Linked DNA regions of Homo sapiens: all the other regions are linked to region 3. Evidence: promoter capture Hi-C in 16 types of primary human blood cells and fetal thymus (Javierre and others, 2016). All regions are on one chromosome and are shown on one strand. Each heading gives the region's core, a stretch centred on a gene start or on the middle of the fragment in contact. The rest is flanking DNA. Distances are from core to core; before and after follow the strand shown.

Region 1 (2,700 bases), core at 16-2,515, 280 kb before region 3:
TGTTTTCTTTTGTTTTCACCTTTTATTAGAGGTTTAATTATATAAACTTTGAATATCATAAGCCAAAAAACAAACCCAAGGCTTAGAGACATAAGTAACTTGTCTAAGATCACACAGCTAGAGAATGCTTGAGCCAGAATTCAAAACCAGGTGCATCTCTCCACTCATATGCTTAACTGACACAATATTTAGAATGTATATCGTACAGGAATTAGAAATATTAGAATGAGATTCAAGCCATGGATAGGTAAGCTCCAAAGAGGCTGTTTCTTGATGCCATGATTAAGGTGTGAAATATTTCAAAGACAATGAGGGGAACAAGCTATAAACAACAATGTCTGTAAAGTTAGAGTTTGTATTTAGAAACATGCCCCTAAGTCTGGTGACAAATTTATTGGCTGTTTTGGGCACAGATCAAACTGCAAACATTTCTAAAACCCTCTCTCCATATTTTTGTTAAAAAGCAGCTCATAGCTAAAGATGTGGCATGTGCAGAATGGCCAGGTGGGAATAGTTAACAGAGATCCCATTCTGGTTTTTCCTTGAGGGGGCTATTTGACTCAGTTCTTCTTTTCTTCTTCTTGTCGTCTTTTTTTTTTTTTTTTTGAGACAGAATTTCCCTCTGTTGCCCAGGCTGGAGTACAGTGGTGCGATCTTGGCTCACTGCAACCTCTGCCTTCTAGGTTCAAGTGATTCTCCTGCCTCAGCCTCCCAAGCAGCTGAGATTACAGGCATGCACCACCATGCCTGGCTTATTTTTTTTTTTTTTTTTTGTATTTTAGTAGAGACAGGGTTTCACCATGTTGGCCAAGCTGGTCTCGAACTCTAGACCTCAAGTGACCAACCTGCCTCAGCCTCCCAAAATGTTGGGATTACAGGTATAAGCCACCACGCCAGGCCTCAGTTCTTATTTTCTATTCAATCATGTATGTTGAAAAAAAGAAAAAGACACACCAGTGTTACAAAACCTTGTATTAATCATTTCCCTTCACTTTCAATATAACGTTGATATGAAATATAGCCATGATTCTTAGTTACATGGGAGGAAATGAATAATAAATACATTGTAGCAAGTTTAAACCACAAGGGTGTTTCACTGGTAACAACATTTGAAAACTGTACACTTGCAAAGAACAGCATCTTCAAACATTAGTATATCTGTATATCAGTAAAGCTTTTACATGTAACAAACATGCTCTTTCCATATATGACAAATTTAAAAAATATGCATTGCTTGGCAACATGAACTAGGCAAAAATATTTCTTTGTTCACTAACTTTATACAGGAAAACAGGACGAAAGGCATGCATGTACAATACAGATGCCTGCACAGGGCATGCAACAAAAGAAAGCTTTTTAAAAGTCAGCTTACATTAGGCATAAATACATGAGGATTATATATTAATAAGGGAGGAAGTTTTCTGTTCGACATTATTAACATTCCTGTTTTCTTCCTATTCCTCCCAGAGGAATACACATTCACCTTTAAGTAAAGATAAAGGAATTACAAAAAAATAAAACTCACTTTGCAAACATCTCTGATGACTTGTAAAAAAAAAAAAAATCAACATTAGTGTTATCACAGCTCCATGTGCAAATTATCCTTCTGCAGGTTCTTCTTGTAACAGGCACACCTGAGCGCCTTGGTCAGGCTGCTTCCCCAGGCCCAAGCTGGAGCTGACTGCTACAGACATCTCCAGGGGACCAATGAGGCCAGGCCTGCTTTTCCTCCCCTTGCCCGCCTTCTGGTTGCATGCTTTTGCATTCAGCCCAGCTCAGCCCCCAAGCCCAGGCTCCTGGGGAATAACATCTACAACCTTGCACCGGCAGTAGCTACAAGAGGTGCAGAAGAACAAAAGATCCGGAGAAGGCTCCCATCCCGTAAAAGGCAGCCAAGGACACCTCAAAAGAAACCCTTGTTTCCCTCAGTGTCTCTTCAAACGAATGGGAGAGAGGGGGGCCCAGCTGTAGCTCCAATCCTGAGTACCAAAAAGGAACCCTCAATACACAGGATTTGAGAGCTCGGTGCAAAGAGCCGCCCGGACAGGCAGACCCAGCCACATCTATTTTGCTTGCTGGCTCTCGTTTAAAAAGTGAAAACTCAAAAGCATGTGAAAAAACAACATATCAGCAGCAATGTTTCATGTCTTGTACACAGTTCATGTGTTTCTTCCTACTGTTTCTGGTAAGAAGCCACTATGAATAAAAAGCACCAATAAAACATCATACATGATAATATTGTAGAACACCACTGTCCCTAGGACAATGTAGAGATGCCAAGTACACACTGCTTAAATCAGAACAAGGGGGGAAAAGCATGTAGTGAAATAGATTTTACTCTGAGATTTTAAAATTGTTACTATTTTCTTAATATAAAACAGTTGCATTTGGTGGGGGTCAATGGGTAAATACAAAAAAAGGCACTGCTGCTTTTATTACTAAATATCTGACTTCACAGCCTCATGCATGCAACTGTTTGATTCTTTTATAAATAAAATTCTTTTGCTTTAGGATTTTTAAATTGAGCTATATACCTGTAGTCAACACAGGACTCAAAACAAGGTGGGGACAGGGTCTTAAAATTTATCAAACACTCAACTTAAAAAAAAAATTAAAACACTAATAGCAAAACACAACTAAGTAGATAAATCTATACACTGTCAATGAAAAATAAGCTTTTCTTCTTTAAAAAAAGAATTA
Region 2 (2,734 bases), core at 49-2,548, 350 kb before region 3:
TTTTTCAAAAATAATCAAGCTAAGTTTGAATAACTTGAGGTTATAGTGACCATATCATAATTGAAATAAATGAGTCTCGGCCGGGTGCCGTCTTTCACACTTGTAATCCCAGCACTTTGGGAGGCTGAGGCGGGCGGATCACTTGAGGTCAGGAGTTTGAGACCAGCCTCACCAACATGGTGAAACCCCATCTCTACTAAAAATACAAAGATTAGCTGGGCGTGGTGGCGCACACCTGTAATCCCAGCTAATCAGGAGGCTGAGGCAGGAGAATTACTTGAACCCGGGAGGCAGAGCTTGCAGTGAGCCGAGATTGTGCCATTGCACTCCAGCCTGGGCGATGGAGTAAGACCCTATCTCAAAAAAATAAAAATAAAAGAAGAGGAATAAATGAGTCTCTGTGACCAGTTGACTGTGCTGTGGCTCTGATGTGTTCCTGTTTCTTTATGCAGGCCCTGGGATTTAACACAGTTGTGAAATGGTGGTCCTGATATTTCTCAATTCTGTGTTGGAATCTGTAAAAAAAAAACTACTCCAGCAATCTGACAACTGCCCTCTAAAGTTGTTCCTGTTACTTTGTTTTCACTTCCACTTTCTCATTCATTTCCTCTGGGGATCAATAAGAAAGTGGGTAGAAGAGACAAATTTAACTTCCCCAGTTTCTGACCTCATTCCTGCTCAGCTATTTTGCTATTAGATAGGGCTGCTTGGCACCATGAAAGAATATTATATCATAGCTGTAATTGCTTCACTGGAATAAGGCTCTTAGCACAAATCCAGAAACATTCTGGCTGCTTGCGTGTGATCCATCCCTGGTGGCAGTGCTGAAAAGTTGCTGAGAAAAAGTGTGTTGGTAGTGATTGGGAGTAATTAATCTTACTATAATTTTTATTAACGACTCCCTTCCCAGTAACTTACCCTCAACTAATGATGTATTAAACCAATTTCATGTCAACTGTGAGTAAAAGTATCTTTACTAAAATTGGTTATTCTTATGGTTTTATAATATACAGTCTAAGTAAAATCAGCATGCTTACTGTGCAAACATAGCTGTAGGCCCAGTCCCCTGGGCCTCCCTGTCAGCAAGATTGCTAACCCTATACCTTGCCCATATAGAAATTCCAGCACTGCTGATGCCTATAACAGACTGTCCATATGTGAAAGGTGTAATGGATAGTTTCATAGTGTAAAAAAGCTTGGCAGATCACATTAGGCCTTGGTCTTAATGTAACAGCCTTCTCTGAAAAACCAACTGTTGATCATGATTAACACTTTATGGGAAATGGACTCTTGAGTGATTCAGTGAGATCATACAATAAATGGCAACCTGGTGGTAGAAGGAAATAATCTTAGTTATTTCCTTTCCAAGTGAAAGGAAAAGATCTCAAATAATTAAGCTTTTATGAAACAATACAAAGGAGTTGATTATTAGCATGGGGATTTGTCCTTAGACTAATAGGATTAAAATTTAAGAATAAAATGGAACATGAAGCCAAAGAACCAAGTGTATGTTGCTTTCAAATATTTTGCAAAAAATTTGAATAAAGAGTCTATTAAATAGAAAAGAAGACTAAGATTTTATCCAACTACTTATTCCTTATAAGAAGTAAGAATATTTAGAGAATGAAGAGGAATAAAAGCTGAATGTCTTAGCAAAACTTCACTGCTCATTTTAATCTTATATATGAAGTTTGTTATATGCTTGCCTTTAAATGAATGACCTTTCAGTGCCAGTGAAGTCAAATATCAAGCAGTAAAGCCTTAAGTAACAAGAAAATGCCAGAAGTGAGTTGATCTGGCTCAACTCTAGTAGAATTCTAGAATAAACTTAGTTTGAATAGAACTTTCTTTTGTTGCTGAAAAGCCATTGAACATGTATTCATTTTCTTCCCTTAGAAATAACTGAGCCTCGGCTGGGTGAGGTGGCTCATGCCTGTAATCTCAGCACTTTGGGAGGCCGAGGTGGGCAGATCACTTGAGGTCAGGAGTTCCAGACCAGCCTGGCCAACATGGTGAAACCCCATCTCTACTAAAAATACCAAAATTAGCAGGGCATGGTAGCATGCGCCTGTAATCCCAGCTACTTCGGAGGCTGAGATGGAAGAATCGCTTGAACCTGGGAGGCGGAGGTTGCAGTGAGCCGAGATTTCACCACTGCACTCCAGTCTCGTGACAGAGCAAGACTCTGTGTCACTAAAAATAAATAAATAAATAAATAATTGAGTGAATGTACGAAATCTTGAATTTAGAGTTGTAGTATCTCAGGTAGCCATGGCTGACCTGTTGGGTGGGCACTGTGCCAGCTACTGTGGAGGCTAAAGAAGCAGGACATGGCAGCCACCCTCAAGGAGAGTGCACAGGGCAAGACTGCAAGTGCCATGGAAATGCCTGCTGTAGCTCCAAGTTCAGAGGAGCCATGATGGCTGTGGCCTGGCAGGTGAATAGACCTGGAGGTGGAGGGATGAGCAGAATTCTAAATGGGGGAGAAGTTTCTCTAGGTATAGTTAATGCATGAGCAAAGACCAGTCAGAGGGTAGGAGCAAGGCCTATTCCAGTGGATGGGAACCAGATTGACTGATGGAAGTAAGAGTAAGTGAGGTGAGTATTAGATTACAGAGGGAGCAGTATTTTTTTTTCTTTTTTGACTATAAAAGCAACATACCATTTAAATACAAATGAGTGAATAAAGTGAAAACTTTTCTTACCTATTTTCATTCCCCAGAGTTAGAACTAG
Region 3 (2,748 bases), core at 217-2,716:
GAATAACCAATTGTGTAAGATTGGTCTTTGTTTTCCAATCTTACCCCCACAAATAAGGAATTTGTATTTCCAATCCTCACCCACATACAAGGCAAGGAATTCTATGCTCTATTGCTGGTAGGGTGAGGAGCAGTGTGGACAGGTTAAAACTTTTGTCACTTCCTAAAGATGGCATATATTTTCAGAAACCGACAAGGGCCCGTGTTCTTTAAGGCAATCACATATATGTGACCAAAGGCTATTTTAAAACTCGTTTTACGTAGCCTTCTTTATTCACTAACATGTTCTCTGCCCCTATGCTCATGCTGTCTTCTCTGAGATGCTTTTTCTTCCCTACTATATACATTTAACTCCATTTATTTTTCAAAATGCTCATTCTCCAAAATCCAGCTCATGTCCCTCTTCAACAGAGTCCCCTCTGACCTCTTCAGACCATGGCTGTTATCCACTTAGAACTGCTGTTTGATCTTTTTGTAACTATTATCATCTCAAAGGGATTTTGGAGGCTGCAGCCTAGAAAAACTGTTGTGGGCTAGTTACACGGTTTCAACTCGTTATTTACAAGGCTTGTCTAAACATGATACAATAGCATCTCCTCAAGAGAGAAATTGAACCTCTAGGCTAGAAGAATTGCTCAGCGGTTATCTAACAGACCATTCTCCTTGTCTCCAATAGGCAACTGTCCTACCCTCGGTGTTACATATTTCTAAGGTCTCTTCCAGCTCTAAAATTATGATTTTACAATTCTATCGACTAAATATTACTTCAAAAGGTGTGGAATGTATACAGAAACCATTAAATTCTCAAACGGTAACAGTTCAGTTACAAGTTACTCTGAAAGATCTGAGGCTAAGGGCTCCATTCAGGTCAGAATCACAACTGTTAACCTCGCTTACTGTCCAGTCTGTGCACTGTAGCACAGGTGACTAACTCATCCAGGACACACAGTAGGCCCGAATCCGGGACAGAAGCCTACTAGAGAAGCACTTTCTCCCAACACCAAGCCCAAGCCCAAGCCCTTCCTGGCTGCTTTATCGCCTAGAAACAAAGCTGAGTAAAACACCCCAATGCGGTACCACCCCAAGATGCCCCAGCGACACGGACCAAACGGTGATGCAGGGCAGTGACGCAGGTGCAGCGTCCACCTTGTTTTCCTCCCAGAGAAAGTCGGAGTTCTAGGCACCCGGGGACACCGAATCCCCGACGTCCTCCGGCCCGCGGCCCTCCGGCTCCGGTGCCCCCTGCTGCTCGTCGCGACCCCACTCTGGCGGTATCCGCCCCTTCGTCTCTCACCCCTGGGACACTTACCATCCCAATACCAGGCCGGTGGTCACGATGAAGCAGGTAAAGACCACCGCGATGTAGAAAAGCGGCGAGTATTCATAAAGCGTTACCAGAAACACCGCAGCCATCAGGGTCTTGCTCTGGGTAGAGCCCGGCTCCAGCCGCGGAGCCCAGCCCAGCCCGGCTGAGCCCCGCCCGCCCGGCCAGGGTAAAAGCCACTACAGTGCCCCGGAGCGGACAAACTTTGTAGGTCCGCACTTGCCTGGGGTTCTCATGAGCTAGACTTTAGGGCAGCCTCGCGGACAGCGGGAGCTGGCGTGCCAATCACGGCGCCCCCTGCCGGACACGCCACGCCCCTCCCGCTCCCGTCCCGAGCTATTGGCTACGCAGACCTGGGATGGGGGGGGCCCGACTCGCACCGCCCCCGACTCCCAGGATTGGTACCCAGCGGGCGTCTTAAGCGCTGTGGCCCAGTGGTCATTGCTGTTCCGCCGGCAAATTCTAAGTAGACTTTGGGGCCAACTCTGTGCCAGCCTTAGGCAATGTAGGTTTTCTGATGTCAGAGAGAGGCGCAGTCTGAAATCTACGTGCATCGTTTCTAAATCCTGAAACCCTGCCTATTATATCTTAGGCAAATTTGGGAGAGGGTGGAGGAGGAGGAGGAGGAGGGCGGGCATCTTGGATTCTACAAAATGAAATAACCATAAGCACAGTGAAAACACAAAAAAAGGAGTCTCTACCACAAGCAATTTATACGAGACTTGTCAGCCTTTTCAGATTGGACTTAATCATAGAGGAAAATCAGCATTGCTTATCCAAGATTCTCTTAGAAATAAAGCATCCGCTTCCTCCCACATCCCCCTCCTTTTCTCCTCTTCTTGTACTCCTCAAATTAGAATTAGCCAAACATTTGAAACTGTATTTGTTTCCACTTTAAGAATAATTTTTAAAAAACTTTTTAAATCACACAGAAGCTTTTTAAAAATTACTGAAAGTAGCTAAATGGTCACTCCCTTGTCTCAACCCTGTGAGTCAGCTCCATCAAGGTGGCCTCCCTGAAAGTCTTTCATAACAGTTCATTGACACCTCGTTGGTTTGCATTTACTCCTAAAGCCACATCTAGCCACATCAGAGAATGGGGATATGTAGTCTTATTATTCGTGAGCAGCAACACACCCTGGTACAAATCAAGAGTTTTGTTACTGAGGAGGAAAGAGAATGGACATTGGGATAGTTAACTAGTAGCCTCTGTCACACTCCTAAATCACCAGTAAAATTCGTGTTGAGAAAGATGAACTAAGTTTGTCCTATGGCCTCACATATTCCTTGGCAAATGAGCACGTAGTCTCTGGAGCAGCACTGTTTGAGAAGCTTGCTTCTACAACACAATTTTTAATTACTATATATCTGATTTGTGAAAATATATACTTTAATCAGCCCTCAACTGTTGGAGAATTTTTCATT
Region 4 (2,775 bases), core at 39-2,538, 320 kb before region 3:
AGTGTTGTGTAAGCCAACGAAATGAGGGATGCAGAACTGCCTGCCTCACCCTTTTCTTTTTACTCTTTCCCTTAGGAGTGGAAGCAAAAATTCCAGACTCTGCCTTCTGTAAAAGCCACAGTGAGGCATTACGACTTGGAAGGAAAGTTCAGACTCACATTCCTATAATTCTGAACAGACCTTTTATTTTTAAAGCAATATCTGTGCTGCATAATCTCTTTTCTAAATATGTAATTGCTCTGATAATGTACTGAATTTGGGGAAGATCATTATTTGGAGACCTAGAACTTCTGATGGTACCAGGACAGCATTCCCCCTTCTAAAGCTTTCAGATACATGGAACAAAACAAAAAGGAGTATAAATTAGAAAGATAACCGTGGCACTTTGGGAGGCTGAGAATGCAGGATTGCTTGAGGCCAGGAGTTCCAGACCAGCCTGGGCAACGTAATGAGATTTCATCTTCACAAAAAAATTTTAAAAATTAGCTAGGTGTGGTGGCATGTGCCTGTAGTCCCAGCTATGTGGAGGCCGAGGCAGGAGGATCGCTTGACCAGGAGTGAAACCCTCTCTCAAAAAAAAAAAAAAAAAAAAAGGTCACCGTGAGCTACCACTTGCCCCTGTGGTGAGAAGTTATTTGCATAATCATAATGTAAGTACTGATTACTCAGTTAACTAAAAATTGTTGTGAGATAACCTTTATCTTGGGAGGAAGGAGAAGTATGAGTTAAATCTTCATCTGTCATAACAAAGATTAGATAACATCAAAATTCATCTATCAAGAAGGAACAATTTAAGCACAATTTTTTATCAAGTAACTACCAAAGAAATAGCAAAAAGACATAAGTGATTGTCTCTTTAAGAGAGGAGGTGGGAGGGAGAAAGACAAAGAACTCTTGCTTAGATTATAAAACTTCTGTTTGTCACTATTTGATTTTTTAAAATTAGGTGCCTGTATTTACTATGTTAAAAGTGAAAAAATATATCTATATCTACACATATGGAGCCAAGAGAATATGGGTAAGCAGGATGTCTGTAATGATTATTTGAAATATCCTTGAGTGTTACAACTAAAGTGATGTTTTGGGAGAAAAGGATACAAGTGAAGTACAGTTATGTGTTGCTTAACGACACGGATTCCTTCTGAGAAATGCATCGTTAGTCGATTTCATCATTTTGTGAACATCATAGATTTTACTTCCACAAACCTAGATGGTATAGCTCACTACCCACCTAAACTGTATAGTATGGCCTATTTTTCCTAGGCTACAAACCTGCACTGAATACTGTAGGCAGTTGTGATACACTGGTAAGTATTTGTGTATCTAAACTTACTAAAACGTAGAAAAGGTACACTAAAAATAGGGTGTGGGACCCTATGAGACCGCCATCGTATATACGGTCCATCATTGACCAAAACGTCCTTATGTGGCACATGACTATGAATGAATTCTTAGATGAAATAAAGGAATCACTGCTCTCACTAACTTTATTTGGCCTGCATTTTGCATCTTTAGTTTTCTGTTATTCACAGGTGTTTGGTACTTCAGATCAGGGGTTGGCAACCTTTTTCTGGAAAATGCGTGATGGTAAAACTTTTAGACTTTGCAGGTCACATGGTTTCTGTTATAACTACTCAACTCTGCCATTCTCGTGTGGAATCCACCATAAACCATATGTAAATGAATGTGACTGTGTTCCAATATAACTTTATTCATGGACACCAAAATTTGAATTTCATGCCATTTTTGTGGCCGTGAAATATTCTTTTTTTTTTTTTCATTCATTAACAATGTAAAAAGCATTCTTAGCTCATGGACCATACAAAAACAGATGGTGGGTAGGATTTGGCCAGCAAGCCATAATTTGCAAACCCCTGCTTCAGATCTAACACATTTGTGTGGTTCCCTCCCATGCATAGCAAAGAGCTCCAGCCATCTGGGCTGCAAAGAGGAATTTACATGGAGCAGGTAAGCATCAGTTCCCCCAGCATTTGCAACTATGGAAATTTTGTCTTAAAGGGCTTCAAGGTCTTGATGGGCTCTAAGGAGTTAAACTTCATGCTTCTCCTTTTCCTCTACCCTATTCTCATTTGTTTTTACTGTCTAAGTATAGGAACATCCCTATGAAGCTCTATTTCGGTGAGTATTACATTGTTGGAAATTTCATTACCAAGACAAAAATAATGTAGGAGGTCATAGACATAGAGATGTGGGCTCTGAGTTGGGCCCCTTGGCATCAAAAGAAGCTTCTGAAGGGTTGGACATAAAGGAGATTTCATGAATGTCAGGCCCTGTCTCCACCCACAGGTGACCAGGCCAGGTGAGTCCTGGAAGTGAGGTCCTGCCTGCCCTGAGAAGACTCCCTAGAAGACAGCACCCATAGCTTCCTTCCTTGTCACCAGTAGTTGCCATTGATGGGGAGAACGCAGATCTTCCAAGTGCCTTTGTTAAGGCTTTGTTTCCTTAGGTTTAACTGTGTTGCATGCTGGAGTATAAATATGAGTGAGACTTCCCCGTCCTCAAGTCTAGGGAGAGATATATGTAATGTAAACAAATATTTGAAGCACACTGAATAAAAGCTCTATTATAGGTTGATCCCATGTTGGAGAGGGGAGTAGTGGCGATAGAGACCGAAGAGATAGGCAGAGGACATACCACAGACATGCCCTGCCCAAGAACTGATATTGAAGTTGCGAAAAGCTGGTGGAAAGATGTCAAGCAGGGGATTGTGGGTTGTAATCAGAGTTGGAGGATGGACAGCTTAGGAGGCTATTG
Region 5 (2,767 bases), core at 115-2,614, 490 kb before region 3:
TTAATCTATAGTTTTGATAACATTCACATATAAAACAACAGCCTATGTGTGGTGGCTCACACCTATAATCCCAGCACTTTGGGAGGCTGAGGCAGGAGGACCGCTTGAGCTCAGGAGTTTGACACCAGCCTGGGCAACATAGCAAGACCTCGTCTCCACAAAAAAATGAAAATTAGCCAGGTGTGGTGGCATATTCCTGTAGTCCCATCTACTTGGGAGACTGAGGCAGGAGTATCACTTGAGCCCAGGAGATTAAGGCTGCAGTGGGCTATGATCTTGTCACTGTACTCCAGCCTAGGCAACAAAGCAAAACCCTGCCTTAAAAATAAAATGTCTCATCTGAAGGCTCTAAGGAAAAAAAAAAGAAAACAAAGTAAAATAAAGTACCAATAAGATGTCTAGGAGGACCAAATTGAGCTGATTCTAAAGCCCATGAGGGCTTTCTGCACTACCCAGAGAAGGATCCTTATGATGTTGTTCTGGATTCCCATCGTAACTTAAAGGGAAACTTTCACAATGTCTAGAACCTCTATGTCCTGCAAATGAAGGAGGAGGATGTCCTTAAGTTCCTTGCAGGAGGAACCCACTTAGGTAGCACCAGCTTTGTCTTCCAGATGGGACAGTACATCTATAAAAGGAAAAGTGTTGGCATCTACATCATAAATCTGAAGAGGACCTGGGAGAAGCTTCTCCTGGGAGCTTGTGCCATTGTTGCTGTTGAAAACTCTTTCAATGTCAGTGTCATATCATCCAGGAATACTGGTCCGAAGGCCATGCTGAAGTTTGCTGCTGCCACTGGAGTCACTCCAGTTGCTGGCTGCTTCACTCCTGGAACTTTCATTAACCAGATCCAGGCAGCCTTTTAGGAGCCACAGCTTCTTATGGTGACTAATCCCAGTGCTGATCACCAGCCTCTCACAGAGGCATCTTATGTTAACGTACCTACCATTGCTCTGTGTCACACAGATTTTCCTCTGTGCTATGTGGACACTACCATCCCATGCAACAGCAAGGGAGCTCACTCAGTGGGATTGATGTGGTGGATGCCGATCCAGGAAGTTCGCATGTGTGGCACCATTTCCTGTGGGAGGTCATGCCTGATCTCTACTTCTACAGTGTTCCTGAGGAGATTGAAAAAGAAGAGCAGCCTGCTGCTGAAAAGGCTGTGACCAAGGAGGAATTTCAGGGTGAATGGACTACTCCAGCTCCTGAGTTCGGTGCTCCTCAACCTGAGGTTGCAGACTGGTCTGATGGTGTGCAGGTGCCCTCTGTGCCTATTTAGCAGTTCCCTCCTGAAAACTGGAGTGCTCAGCCTGCCACAGAAGACTGGTCTGCGGCTCCCCACTGCTCAGACCACTGAATGCATAGGAACAACCACTGAGTGATCTTAAGCTGTTCTTGCACAGGCTCTTAAGCAACATGGAAATAAGGTTGATGAAAAATAAACATTGGGTCGGGCTCGCTGGCTCACGCCCATAATCCCAGCACTTTGGGAGGCTGAGACAGGTGGATCAGTTGAGGCCACGAGTTCAAGACCAGCCTGGGAAACATGGCGAAACCCTGTCTCTACTAAAAATATAGAAATTAGCTGGGCATGGTGGCACATGCCTGTAATCCCAGCTACTTGGGAGTCTCAGGCATAAGAATTGCTTGAACCCAGGAGGCGGAGGTTGCAGTGAGCCAAGATCACAATACTGCACTCTAGCTCAGGTGATAGAGCGAGACTCTATCTCAAAAAAAGAAAATAAACATTGGTTGCTAAAAAAAAAGGGAAAGTCCATGTGGAAAATGAAAAGTTTTGAAAAAGAAAAGTGATGCAAATAATTCAGTTAGATAATAAAACATAAAGTTATGAGAATTATAAGTTTGCTATTGAGTTATGAATAGACACATACCTGTTAAAGAGATAAATAGAACCAAATGTATATGGAAAGTTAGTGTATATAAAGGTAGAGAAAAGGAGATTTAGCAAATGTATTAGCACAAGGATATGAATACCAGGAAGTGGAGTGGGAATCTTTGAGGACCATCTTGGAAGCTTGCTTCTACATGATGAGTCTATATATAGGTATTTACTATATTATTATTTCAACTTTTCTATTCTTTTGAAATTTTTCAGGAAATAAAATTAATAAAGTAGATTGTATAAAAAGTAAATAGTTTTGCATGGTACAAAATATTAGTCACAGTACAAATGACAAACTGGGGAAGAAAATTTGAAACAATAAAACAGAGCTAATTTCCATAGTGTGCAAAGTATTCTTACAAATCAATAGAAACCCATTAGAAAGATGAGCAAAGACATGAGCAGACAGTGTACATAAAAAATATACAGTTGGTAGCTGGGCACAGTGGCTCACGCCTATAATCCCAGCACTTTGGGAGGCTGAGGCGAGTGGATCCCCTGAGGTCAGGAGTTCGAGACCAGCCTGGCCAACATGATAAGACCCCGTCTCTACTGAAAATACAAAAATTAGCCAGGCGTGGTGGTGTGCGCCTGTAGTCCCAGCTGCTCGGGAGGCTGAGGCAGGAGAATTGCTTGAACCTGGGAGGCAGAGGTTGCAGTGAGCCAAGATGGCACTACTTCTCTCCAGCCTGGGCAACTATATATATATAGTTCGTTTTTCTTTCTTTTTTATACATATATACACAATTGGCTTTTAAAATTATTTTTTCTTTCCTTTTTTTTGAGACATGGTCTCACTCTGTTGCCCAGGCTGGAGTGCAGTGGCATGATCACGATTCACTGCAACCTCTGCCTCCCGGA

What was found. Contacts are between HindIII fragments. The CHiCAGO score rates a contact against its expected background, and 5 or more counts as called.
Region 1: a fragment that was not itself captured here is called in contact with the fragment with the promoter of CGRRF1 in region 3 in 16 of 17 cell types (M1 macrophages, activated CD4 T cells, megakaryocytes and 13 more); the score reaches 12.1 in M1 macrophages.
Region 2: a fragment that was not itself captured here is called in contact with the fragment with the promoter of CGRRF1 in region 3 in 1 of 17 cell types (M1 macrophages); the score reaches 5.6 in M1 macrophages.
Region 4: a fragment that was not itself captured here is called in contact with the fragment with the promoter of CGRRF1 in region 3 in 3 of 17 cell types (M0 macrophages, M1 macrophages and endothelial precursors); the score reaches 7.9 in M0 macrophages.
Region 5: a fragment that was not itself captured here is called in contact with the fragment with the promoter of CGRRF1 in region 3 in 1 of 17 cell types (M0 macrophages); the score reaches 5.4 in M0 macrophages.

The regions. Positions count from the first base shown.
Region 1 is chr14:54,791,570-54,794,269 of GRCh38, reverse strand. SAMD4A (sterile alpha motif domain containing 4A) reads right to left here. Exons shown (of 13, transcript NM_015589.6): 13 at 958-2,700. Among named protein-coding and RNA genes, the nearest start is that of MIR4308, 85 kb to the left of the region's middle. The HindIII fragment of the contact is 178 bases long and covers 1,177-1,354 here.
Region 2 is chr14:54,855,930-54,858,663 of GRCh38, reverse strand. The region is part of intron 3 of GCH1 (GTP cyclohydrolase 1); the gene reads left to right. Among named protein-coding and RNA genes, the nearest start is that of MIR4308, 21 kb to the left of the region's middle. The HindIII fragment of the contact is 202 bases long and covers 1,198-1,399 here.
Region 3 is chr14:54,508,624-54,511,371 of GRCh38, reverse strand. It overlaps CGRRF1 (cell growth regulator with ring finger domain 1), which reads right to left and starts at 1,466. Exons shown (of 6, transcript NM_006568.3): 1 at 1,309-1,466. The coding sequence starts at 1,412. RefSeq lists an enhancer at 986-1,215 and silencers at 1,391-1,576, 1,376-1,805. The HindIII fragment of the contact is 20,688 bases long and covers 1-2,260 here.
Region 4 is chr14:54,827,322-54,830,096 of GRCh38, reverse strand. No RefSeq gene overlaps it. Among named protein-coding and RNA genes, the nearest start is that of MIR4308, 49 kb to the left of the region's middle. The HindIII fragment of the contact is 1,921 bases long and covers 328-2,248 here.
Region 5 is chr14:55,003,437-55,006,203 of GRCh38, reverse strand. The region is part of intron 7 of WDHD1 (WD repeat and HMG-box DNA binding protein 1); the gene reads left to right. It also overlaps the pseudogene RPSAP13. Among named protein-coding and RNA genes, the nearest start is that of WDHD1, 22 kb to the left of the region's middle. The HindIII fragment of the contact is 1,352 bases long and covers 689-2,040 here.